Linked DNA regions of Homo sapiens: all the other regions are linked to region 1. The links are contacts of gene promoters, found by promoter capture Hi-C in blood cells and fetal thymus (Javierre and others, 2016). All regions are on one chromosome and are shown on one strand. Each heading gives the region's core, a stretch centred on a gene start or on the middle of the fragment in contact. The rest is flanking DNA. Distances are from core to core; before and after follow the strand shown. Region 1 holds the start of CYP4V2 (cytochrome P450 family 4 subfamily V member 2). Region 2 has its middle 13 kb from the start of CDKN2AIP. Region 3 overlaps CDKN2AIP (CDKN2A interacting protein).

What was found. Contacts are between HindIII fragments. The CHiCAGO score rates a contact against its expected background, and 5 or more counts as called.
Region 2: a contact is called between a fragment that was not itself captured here and the fragment with the promoter of CYP4V2 in region 1, in 1 of 17 cell types (activated CD4 T cells). The highest score is 5.7, in activated CD4 T cells.
Region 3: a contact is called between a fragment that was not itself captured here and the fragment with the promoter of CYP4V2 in region 1, in 1 of 17 cell types (non-activated CD4 T cells). The highest score is 5.5, in non-activated CD4 T cells.

The regions. Positions count from the first base shown.
Region 1 is chr4:186,189,987-186,193,016 of GRCh38, forward strand. CYP4V2 (cytochrome P450 family 4 subfamily V member 2) reads left to right here and starts at 1,581. Exons shown (of 11, transcript NM_207352.4): 1 at 1,581-2,051. The coding sequence starts at 1,838. It overlaps FLJ38576 (a long non-coding RNA gene), which reads right to left and starts at 1,504. Exons shown (of 1, transcript NR_046264.1): 1 at 1-1,504. RefSeq lists a silencer at 1,378-1,907. The HindIII fragment of the contact is 5,614 bases long and covers 1-2,942 here.
Region 2 is chr4:183,430,122-183,433,151 of GRCh38, forward strand. No RefSeq gene overlaps it. Among named protein-coding and RNA genes, the nearest start is that of CDKN2AIP, 13 kb to the right of the region's middle. RefSeq lists enhancers at 1-634, 635-1,385. The HindIII fragment of the contact is 2,225 bases long and covers 409-2,633 here.
Region 3 is chr4:183,448,843-183,451,872 of GRCh38, forward strand. CDKN2AIP (CDKN2A interacting protein) reads left to right here. Exons shown (of 3, transcript NM_017632.4): 3 at 1-222. Among named protein-coding and RNA genes, the nearest start is that of CDKN2AIP, 5.7 kb to the left of the region's middle. The HindIII fragment of the contact is 4,907 bases long and covers 1-3,030 here.

The sequences.
Region 1 (3,030 bases), core at 331-2,830:
CTTCTGGAGGGGAGGGGTTGTATGTTACCCGCCTGGTTTTATCCACAGAGGTTAGCAGAGACTGATACAGACAAACCCTTTTTCTTTCTAATTTTAGATTCAAGAGCACATGTGCAGGTTTGTTAAATTTGCCTGACGCTGAGGTTTGAGTTTCTATTGATCCCCTCACCTGAATAGGGAACACAGTACCCAATACACAGTTTTTCAACCATTACTCCCCTTCCTTCCTCCCCCTATTTTAGAATCCCCAGTATGTAGACAAATTGTTTACTTTTATAGCTGTAATTAACCTTATTATAGCTCAGCCTCAACCCTTTAGAGAGGAGGAAACTAAAGCCCATGAGACTTGCTTAAAGATACTAAGTGAACATATTTATTTTTTAAAGTGTTAAAGTGATTAAACAATGTAGACGTGAATGAAATAAAAAGCGTAAGTTCCCCATCTTCATTCCCACTCCATAGAGCTGATCAGTATTTTTACTTGCAGACATTAGTGGAGCCGTAGAGAAAGAAACCTTTTCTCCAAAAGAAGGCATTACTTTACACACTCCGTTCTGCAACTTGTTTTGTTCACTTGCTATTTCACGTCAGCCCATGCAGATGACTTAAAACAAATTCAAATGGAGAAAAGCCTTAGGCATGTTTTTCTCTGCACTAAAGAGGCCCTGCAGGTGGCTGTGGCCAACTTATGCAGTGGCTTCGAGTGAACGAACGTAATTAGTAATTAAGCAAAGCGGGCATCCAGGACATTCAGTTTCATCTTCCTGGCACTTTAGTGTTTAGGAAGGGCCTGGCCTCTCGGGGAGCGACACTCCTCGCCCGGCCACTTTGTAAGAAGCATCGAGCGTGGAAAAGGGGCTGGGGTCAGCACTGGGGCCCTCTGCCGGGAAGAGAGACTGGCGGCCAGCACACGCGTCTCCCCAGGCTGAAATGGGGCACCCTCTCGCGGCCCTTCCCTCCCTTCCCGGGCTGGGTGGCAGGTCTTGGCTCTTCTGCGAGTACCCCGCGGCTGCGGTCTCCCGGCACCCGCTGAGCAGCCTCGCCCGCCTTCCTCTCCCACCCGCCCCTGCGTGCTCTCCGGGGCTCCGGCTTCCTCGGTCTGGTGCCTGGTGCGTATTTTGGAAAATACCTGGCTCATAACCACCTCATTGAGCTCCCAGTGTCCCAGTGGGCCAGCGGACACACACGGGTAGCTGACTTCCCTAACGTGTCCCCAAAGCCTCCCTGGATTACAGCGCCCGCTGCTCCATGTGACCCCGCGGGAGCCAGGACGCGCCCCGCCTCCCGGGGCTGCAAGTTGCGCAGGGAGCGAGCGATGCGCAGCAGAGCTGGGCTCCGAGCCGGATGCGCCTTCCTTTCCTCTCCAGAGCAGGCTGCCCGCCCGCGGAATCCCGCACGTAGAGCAACCTCGCAGCACCCTCAGAACAGCCCCGCTGGGGCGCGCCGGGCTGCCGCGGTGACCTTTCCGACGCCCCTGACCCCGCATCCGGAGGCGGCCGGAAGTGTCGCCGGCCTCCTCCCGGCGCAGCCTCCGGGCCTCCAGTGCAATCACTACGCCCTGGGGCCCGGAAACCGTTTTCCGGTCTTTCGCTTTCGGCTGGGGCGTGGAGGCCGCGGTGCTGCGTAGGCCGGGCCGGGCGCAGGAACAGCCCCGTGGCGCCCTCTCTGGCCGCCGCCCGGGCGGGAAACGTCGTTCCGGGGACCGGGCGACCCCGCAGCGGGGAGCGCGCCAGGTCCGCGCGGGGAAGTGGGCGGTGTGCGGCCGGCACCGCCTCGCACCACGCCCCCGCGGGCCCGCACTTTCCCGGAGTGCACCCCGCGGCCGCCAGCCGGGGCGATGGCGGGGCTCTGGCTGGGGCTCGTGTGGCAGAAGCTGCTGCTGTGGGGCGCGGCGAGTGCCCTTTCCCTGGCCGGCGCCAGTCTGGTCCTGAGCCTGCTGCAGAGGGTGGCGAGCTACGCGCGGAAATGGCAGCAGATGCGGCCCATCCCCACGGTGGCCCGCGCCTACCCACTGGTGGGCCACGCGCTGCTGATGAAGCCGGACGGGCGAGGTAAGGGCCGGCGCTCCTCCTGGAGCGCAACGGGGTCCGCAGCCCCGTTCCCACCCTCCGATCAGCCAGGAACCCGCTGCTTGTGGCGCTGGCCGCAGGAGAGAGGAGCCTGTCACCCTGTGGAGAATGCACTCCCAGTTCTAGTCGTTGCCCCTTGGCACCCGCCGACACTGCTAGTGCCCCATCCCAAAGTGAGCATTTTCTTTGTGTGTAGCACAGGATGCGGTATTTCCAAACCCCTGCCCTCGGTCTTTTCCCACCTCACCGCTGCTCAGCTCTCAAAGCCCTGCCGTTTCCTCCTGCCTTGGCTTGGGAAGCCTTAGGAACAGAAGCTCCCTGGGAGCACAGAGCGGTTTTAAACTGGCCAACACCTTAACGCCCAGAGCCGCCCTCCTCTCGCTGCCACTTTGGAAAATAAGAGACTAGAGATTCACTGGACGCTTCCTCCCGGCATCACAAGACTTGACTGCTGCTTCAGTTCCCGCTTGACCTTCATACTTTAGCCCTTTAAAGGATGTTACATAATAACAATTAAGAGACGGCAGGGCCTTCAGGCAGACTTCTTTGGAGGGTGTCAAACGCCTTGTTTATTAAAGAGTGAATTTTTTAATTAAAATCATGTTTTAAAACAGAGATGGACATTTTATTGATGGAAAAAAATCACGTTAAGTTAGAAAGCTCTCAAAAGTACCTGGTATTTACAACTCCCTGTCAGGGAGGGCGAACTCGATCTCAGAGTTTTATTTTCATCAGGGATTACGTTGAGGTACCCAGAAATGAGAAGATTTGCCCAAAATGGCATATTTTAAAATTGGCCCAGACCAGAACCCAGTTTCCTCTGGGATTATTTGTTAGTAATCGTTTTACAGGCTGAGCATTAACTAACTCCAAAGCTTGAAGGACTTTTTCTCATTTTCACTTGTTTTCTCTAATAAAAATAATGCTGTAATTTCAACTTCACAAGATGAGGCCTCATGGA
Region 2 (3,030 bases), core at 271-2,770, 2.8 Mb before region 1:
TAGTAGCAGCATTTATCAAACATCCACAAAATGCTAGGCAAGATGCTGAGATATTTATAAGGATTATCTCATTTTTAAATTTATTTTTTATATTTATTTTGAGACAGGGTCTCACTCTGTCGCCCAGGCTGGAGTACAGTGGTGCAATCAAGATGCACTGCAGCCTCGACCACCTGGGCTCAAGCGATCCTCTCACCTCAGCCTCTCGAGTAGCTGGGACTACAGGCGTATGCCACAACACCTGGCCAGTTTTTGGATTATCTCGTTTTATCCTCACAACAATCCTAAGAGGTAGTCACCACTGTTGTCCCATTTTACAGATGAAGTAAGCAAGGCTCAGAAAGGTTAAGTAACTCCCTTGAGGTCAAACAGCTGGCATGGTGAGAAGGAGATCCTCGTAGGCTTGGAAGCTTTTCTCCATGGGCAGGGCAGAGCAGGCAGAGCAGGGCTGGCTTGACTGTGGGACAGCAGAGAGAAGGGACTCTTAAGACATAGGGCTGGGTAGGGTCTGCACCAAGAAGGACGGCTTTCTCAGCCCCCCAGGAGCAGGGGTTTACCGGCCAGAGGTTTACTGGCCTCAGGGGAGCTCAGGGCCTGGTCAGCAGACTCGAATGCAATCCCTTAGGAATGCATAGCGCCCCCCACTGCCTCTCTCCTCCCTTCTGAATCCAGAACTGTGAGAACGACCAGGAGAAATGGACTGAGCCCCAGGCCTGCACTTTGGAGAGGCCGCCATGGGTGTGATTTCCTTTGCACTGTTTGGGCCTCTGGCACTTCCTGCCAGGCAGGAGATTTCTTGAGACTTCAAAGGCGGCACACAAGAGGAGTGTTAAGCAGATTGAGCACTAATAAAGAACTAACGCCTAGAACAATCACAGCTTCCCTGTGATTCCTGAGAGTGAGGAAAGCACAAAGAAGAAATGAAAGTCTCTCGCTAACCCTGGGAGAAACTAAAACATCCAGGAGCAGATTCTATACTCAGTAATGTGACAGAGTTCACAAAAAGGTTATATTCACACTCGAAGCTACTGAGGCTCATGCTCAGCTTCATCGAGAGTGGTATCACCATACCCAGAAAAAAATGGCCTCCTATGGAAAAAGCTAACCTAATATCATGCATATTATTCTGGAACAAAATAAGTAGAATGATATACCTTATATTTCTACAGTGCTTTTACTTTTTAAGAATTTTAATACCACAGCAGCCAACATTATCTTGTTGCTTTCTCACATTCCTTTATAAAAATTTTCTTTAGAATGTTCAAAATCACATTCTTGCTTCCAGAAAGTCGTAAGAATAAAATTGCATTTCTCTCTCTCTTTTTCTTTTCTTTTCTTTTTTTTTTTTTGAGACAGCCTCACTCAGTTGCCCAGGCTGGAGTGCAATGGTACCATCTCGGCTCACTGCAACCTCCACCTCCCGGGTTCAAGTGATTCTCCTGCCTCAGCCTCCCAAGTAGCTGGGATTACACGCGCACGCACCACCGCACCTGGCTAATTTTTGAGTGTGTGTGTATATATATATGTGTGTAAAAATATATGTATATTTTTAGTAGAGATGGGGTTTCGCCATGTTGGCCAGGCTGGTCTTGAACGGCTGACCTAGGTGACACGCCCACCTTGGCCTCCCAAAGTGCTGTGATTATAGGCATGAGCCACTGCGCCGGCCGAAATTGCATTTTTAAATGTAAAAGGCCCCAGAAGGAAGGAGACTAAATACAGTTCCCAAGCTCCACACAGCTCTCCCCATGGGCCTACGTGGGTCTCCATGCTGAAACCTCGGGGTGAGGGGGAGGCCAGGGGAGGGAGTCGCACAGCAGTGGCCAGTGTGGCTCTGAAGGAGGTGCTGCTATGTGGTTAAGATTTTTCATACTGTGGTATGTACAGTCTTGCGTTGTTTTCTTCTTGCCTTTTAAGCATTGTGAATTCCCCAAGTGAGTTTAACTGTAAATCAACTTGGATCCTGGATCCTTTCTTTGTATCCGACTAGGGGACTTCAAGTGGTAGTCCTGACTAGCCTTTTCTCTTCTGGAGACCAGGGCTCGTAGAAACAATACTGACCTGGAAATTGTGTTAGTCACTGCTAAATGGCCTCTCTGAGCCTCAATTTCCTAGTCTTTCCTAAATTTCCTAAAAACGAGGAAACAGCTTCAGTTACCCCCAAGGAACCTGCCTATAAAAGAATTCCATGAATCTATGATGTCGTAAGACAGCAGTCCCCCACTTTTTTGGCACCAGGGACCGGTTTCATGGAAGACACTTTTTCCATGGAAGGGGGGTCGGCGGGTGGTTTCAGGATGATTCAAGCACATGATGTTTGTTGCGCACTTTATTTCTATTATGATTACATTGTAATATATAATGAAATAATTATACACTTACCATAAGGTAGAATCAGTGGGATCCCTGAGTTTGTTTTCTACAACTAGATGGTCCCATCTGGGTGATGGGAGACAGTGACAGATCATCAGGCATTAGATTCTCATAAGGAGCACACACCCCAGATCCCTCACATGCACAGTTCACAGTAAGGTTCTCACTCCTGTGAGAATCCAACGCTCCTGTCTGATCTGACAGGAGGTGGAGCTCAGGTGGTCATGCGAGCAATGGGAAGTGGCCGTAAAGACAGATGAAGCTTTGCTCACTTGCCAGCTGCTCACCACCTGCCGTGTGGCCCAGGGTTGGAGGTAGTGGCGGGGGGACCCCTGTTATAAGAGAATTGAAATGTTTAGAATTGAGTAATTAGATTTGAATTACTTTCAGTTTTTTTCTAATAGTTCTTCCCCCAATCCCCCAATGGGTATATTACATCTCCTCTCTCTGAACCAGTAACTCAAGCATATATGATCTCTGTCTTGAAAGACAACCAATTGAGAGGTGACAGCGTGCTGGCAGTCCTCAGAGCCCTCGCTTGCTCTCGGCGCCTCCTCTGCCTGGACTCCCACTTTGGCAGCACTTGAGGAGCCCTTCAGCCCACCGCTGCACTGTGGGAGCCCCTTTCTGGGCTGGCCAAGGCCAGAGCCCTCTCCC
Region 3 (3,030 bases), core at 210-2,709, 2.7 Mb before region 1:
TGATTCATTTTTGAGGATATTTAATTGGATACCAAAGCTAAAATCCATATACTGTAAGTGGGTTGCCTTTATAGATTGCGGGACACAATAACATGAATGTATTGTGAAAGCACTTTTAGTTACCTCACTTTCCTCAGTCTTGGAATGTGTATTTTGTGGGATAATGATTATCAGAAAAGCAAAAAATTACAACGAACAAATAAATTTATATAATATATCCAATTAGGTGGTTTGGTAATTTCCTAAATTGGCTTGTTTCAAGTTACTATGAAGGTTATTGAGAATGTTTTATAGTGACTTTTGATGTGGAGGAAGTTGTTTAGTGTACATTTATGATAATCCTATTTAAAAACCTAGAAAAATGCTCTTGGTTAATAACATTTAAAGAATCCTGGTTTAAGAGAAATGCATATTTTAGAATTCTATTATTGAGAGTGAATCTTGGCTGTCTCTTACTAGACATGTAACCTCTGGGAATTTAACCTTTTAACCTTACTTCGTCTGTGAAATAGGACTAATAGCTGTCTCATAGAGCATGGCAGTTAGATGAGATGATACATTCAAAGTGCCCGGCATGGTGCAGATATCCCATGGTTCACTTATATATTCTTATTCCTCTTACAAGGAGCTCTTCTCATTTGGCCTACTTTTCAGATGGAGAAACTTACACAGAGTAATTCGGTCAGATAATTCAAGCCCATATCTGATTTCAAAACCCAAGCTCAAGTATGTTGTACTGCTTATTATCCTTGTCACTTCTCTATATGCTGAAATTTCTGAAAATCCCTCCCAGAACGTGATTTTTTACCAGATTAAGTGACCGCATCTTTCTAAAGCCTCCTTGAAATGAGTCACTTCAGAGGCTCTTCTATTATTAATGCTTCTAATACTTGCATATCTTGAATATCCTCAACTAGTGAATCATCCCATATGGATGCAGTTGAACTTTGTAAAAAGACCATACACACACAAAAGAAATCTGCACAAAAAACCCCCCAAAACCAAAAAACCAAACACACCTGCCTAAAATAGTGTATAATCAAGTTGAGTGAATAAAGTCGGCTACCAAGATGGGATATACTGCTTTTTTCAGATGAGTGAGGGGAGACGATTTCCTGAGACATCAAGATTTTTCTTGATGTTAGAATGAGATTTTTTTTTTAATGGTAAAATTAGTTGACTTGTAAGAATGATACTGTCATGAGTTTTTGACCTAAATTCTTGGAGCCTGTCACTGCTGTCATTGGCTAGGATAATTGTCATAGGGATATGTGTAACTTTAAGGCCTTTGATATGTATTATCAGGAGCCTGCTCCAATTTGAATTATGTTTTCCCTGCCAAGTGCAGCTTTTCTTGGTACAAATTTCTACTTGCTGTTTAGATTTTTGAGTAACAGCAGTGAGAAAGTAACAAAAACAAGCCGCAATTGGGAATCAGGTCAGTCCTACAGGTATTGTGTTACTACTTTGTGGACTTTGTCCTCAAAAATTGTGCTGAAGTCCTATATTGACCTACTTTCTAGACATTGGTTATCCATTCCTGCATGATTTTTAAATAATATTTTCTGTGATTGATGAATAAACTATTTCACTTTCTACTAGAACAAAATGTTCAAGTTGAATGAAGGGTTAAGCCATTTATTGCCCAACTATTCCTCCCCAAGAAAAATATCAATCATATTTCTTTGGCATCCCTGCACACAGCTTAGTTGCCATCCAGTTAGAACCATTTCTTACTACCAACTTTAATTTTAATATCTCTCGATTTTCCTCCTTTTGTTTTTGTTTTGTTTTTTTGTTTGTTTTTTTTTTGAGACAGAGGGAGTCTTGCTCTGTCACCCAGGCTGGAGTGCAGTGGCGTGATCTCGGCTCACTGCAACCTCGGCCTCTTGGGGTCAAGCAATTCTCCTGCCTCAGCCTCCTGAGTAGCTGGGATTACAGGCGTGCATCACTACACCCAGCTAATTTTTTTGTATTTTTAGTAGAGACGGGGTTTCACCATGTTGGTCAGGTTGGTCTCGAACTCCTGATCTTGTGATCCACCTGCCTCAGCCTCCCAAATTGCTGGGATTACAGGCGTGAGCCACTGTGCCCAGCCGATTTTTCTCCTTTAAAAGTCATTATCTGAAAATTATTAGTTTTTAAAGTTCTTTTTCTGTTCCTTTGCTATTCATCTAGCAAGAAAAAGAGTAGACAAGGCCCCAAACTAAATGGACTTTTAACTTTGAAGGGAAAAAAGAAAAGTAATGCTAGGTTGGGCATGGTGGCCCACAACTGTAATGCCAGCACTTTGGGAGGCCAAGGCAGGCGGATCACCTGAAGTCAGGAGTTTGAGACCAGCCTGGCCAAAATGGTGAAACTTTATCTTATAAAACTACAACATTAGCTGGGCGTGGTGGTGCGTGCCTGTCACCCCAGCTACTTGGGAGGCTGAGATAGGAGAATCGCTTGAACCTGGGAGGTGGAGGTTGCAGTGAGCTATGATTGTGCCACTGCACTCCAGCCTGGGTGACAGAGTGAGACTCCGTGTCAAAAAAAAAAAAAAAGTAATACTAAACACAAAGGGTTGGATACAGGACATTTTGAGTAAAAACTAGAGATTACATATGCCAGTACTTAAGAAGCAATCAGAAATACTTTGTGAATTTGAAACTTTATTGAATAGAATCAGAATCCTTGGAGGTCTTAGGAAGCAACCAAACTAAACAATATAAGTAGTAAATACACTAAAGACTACCATTTTACTGAAGTGGGACTATCATGTGCAATGTATATAACTTGGAAGCTAGAGACAAATGTACAAAAAGGTGATTTGGGAGGGAATCATCTAGTGATTTCCTTATACTGTTTTCAGTGTACCAGGGCTTAGACACTTAAAAATGATAAAACCCAAGTTCTGAATATGTCATCAGTGGTTTTCAAACTTTAGCCATATTTCTTCAAAGAAAAATGGGGGCATTGTGTATGTAAAACAGAGAACTACTTTGGTCAAAGGAGGGTGGCCACACCCTACAACTGAATTATACGTTT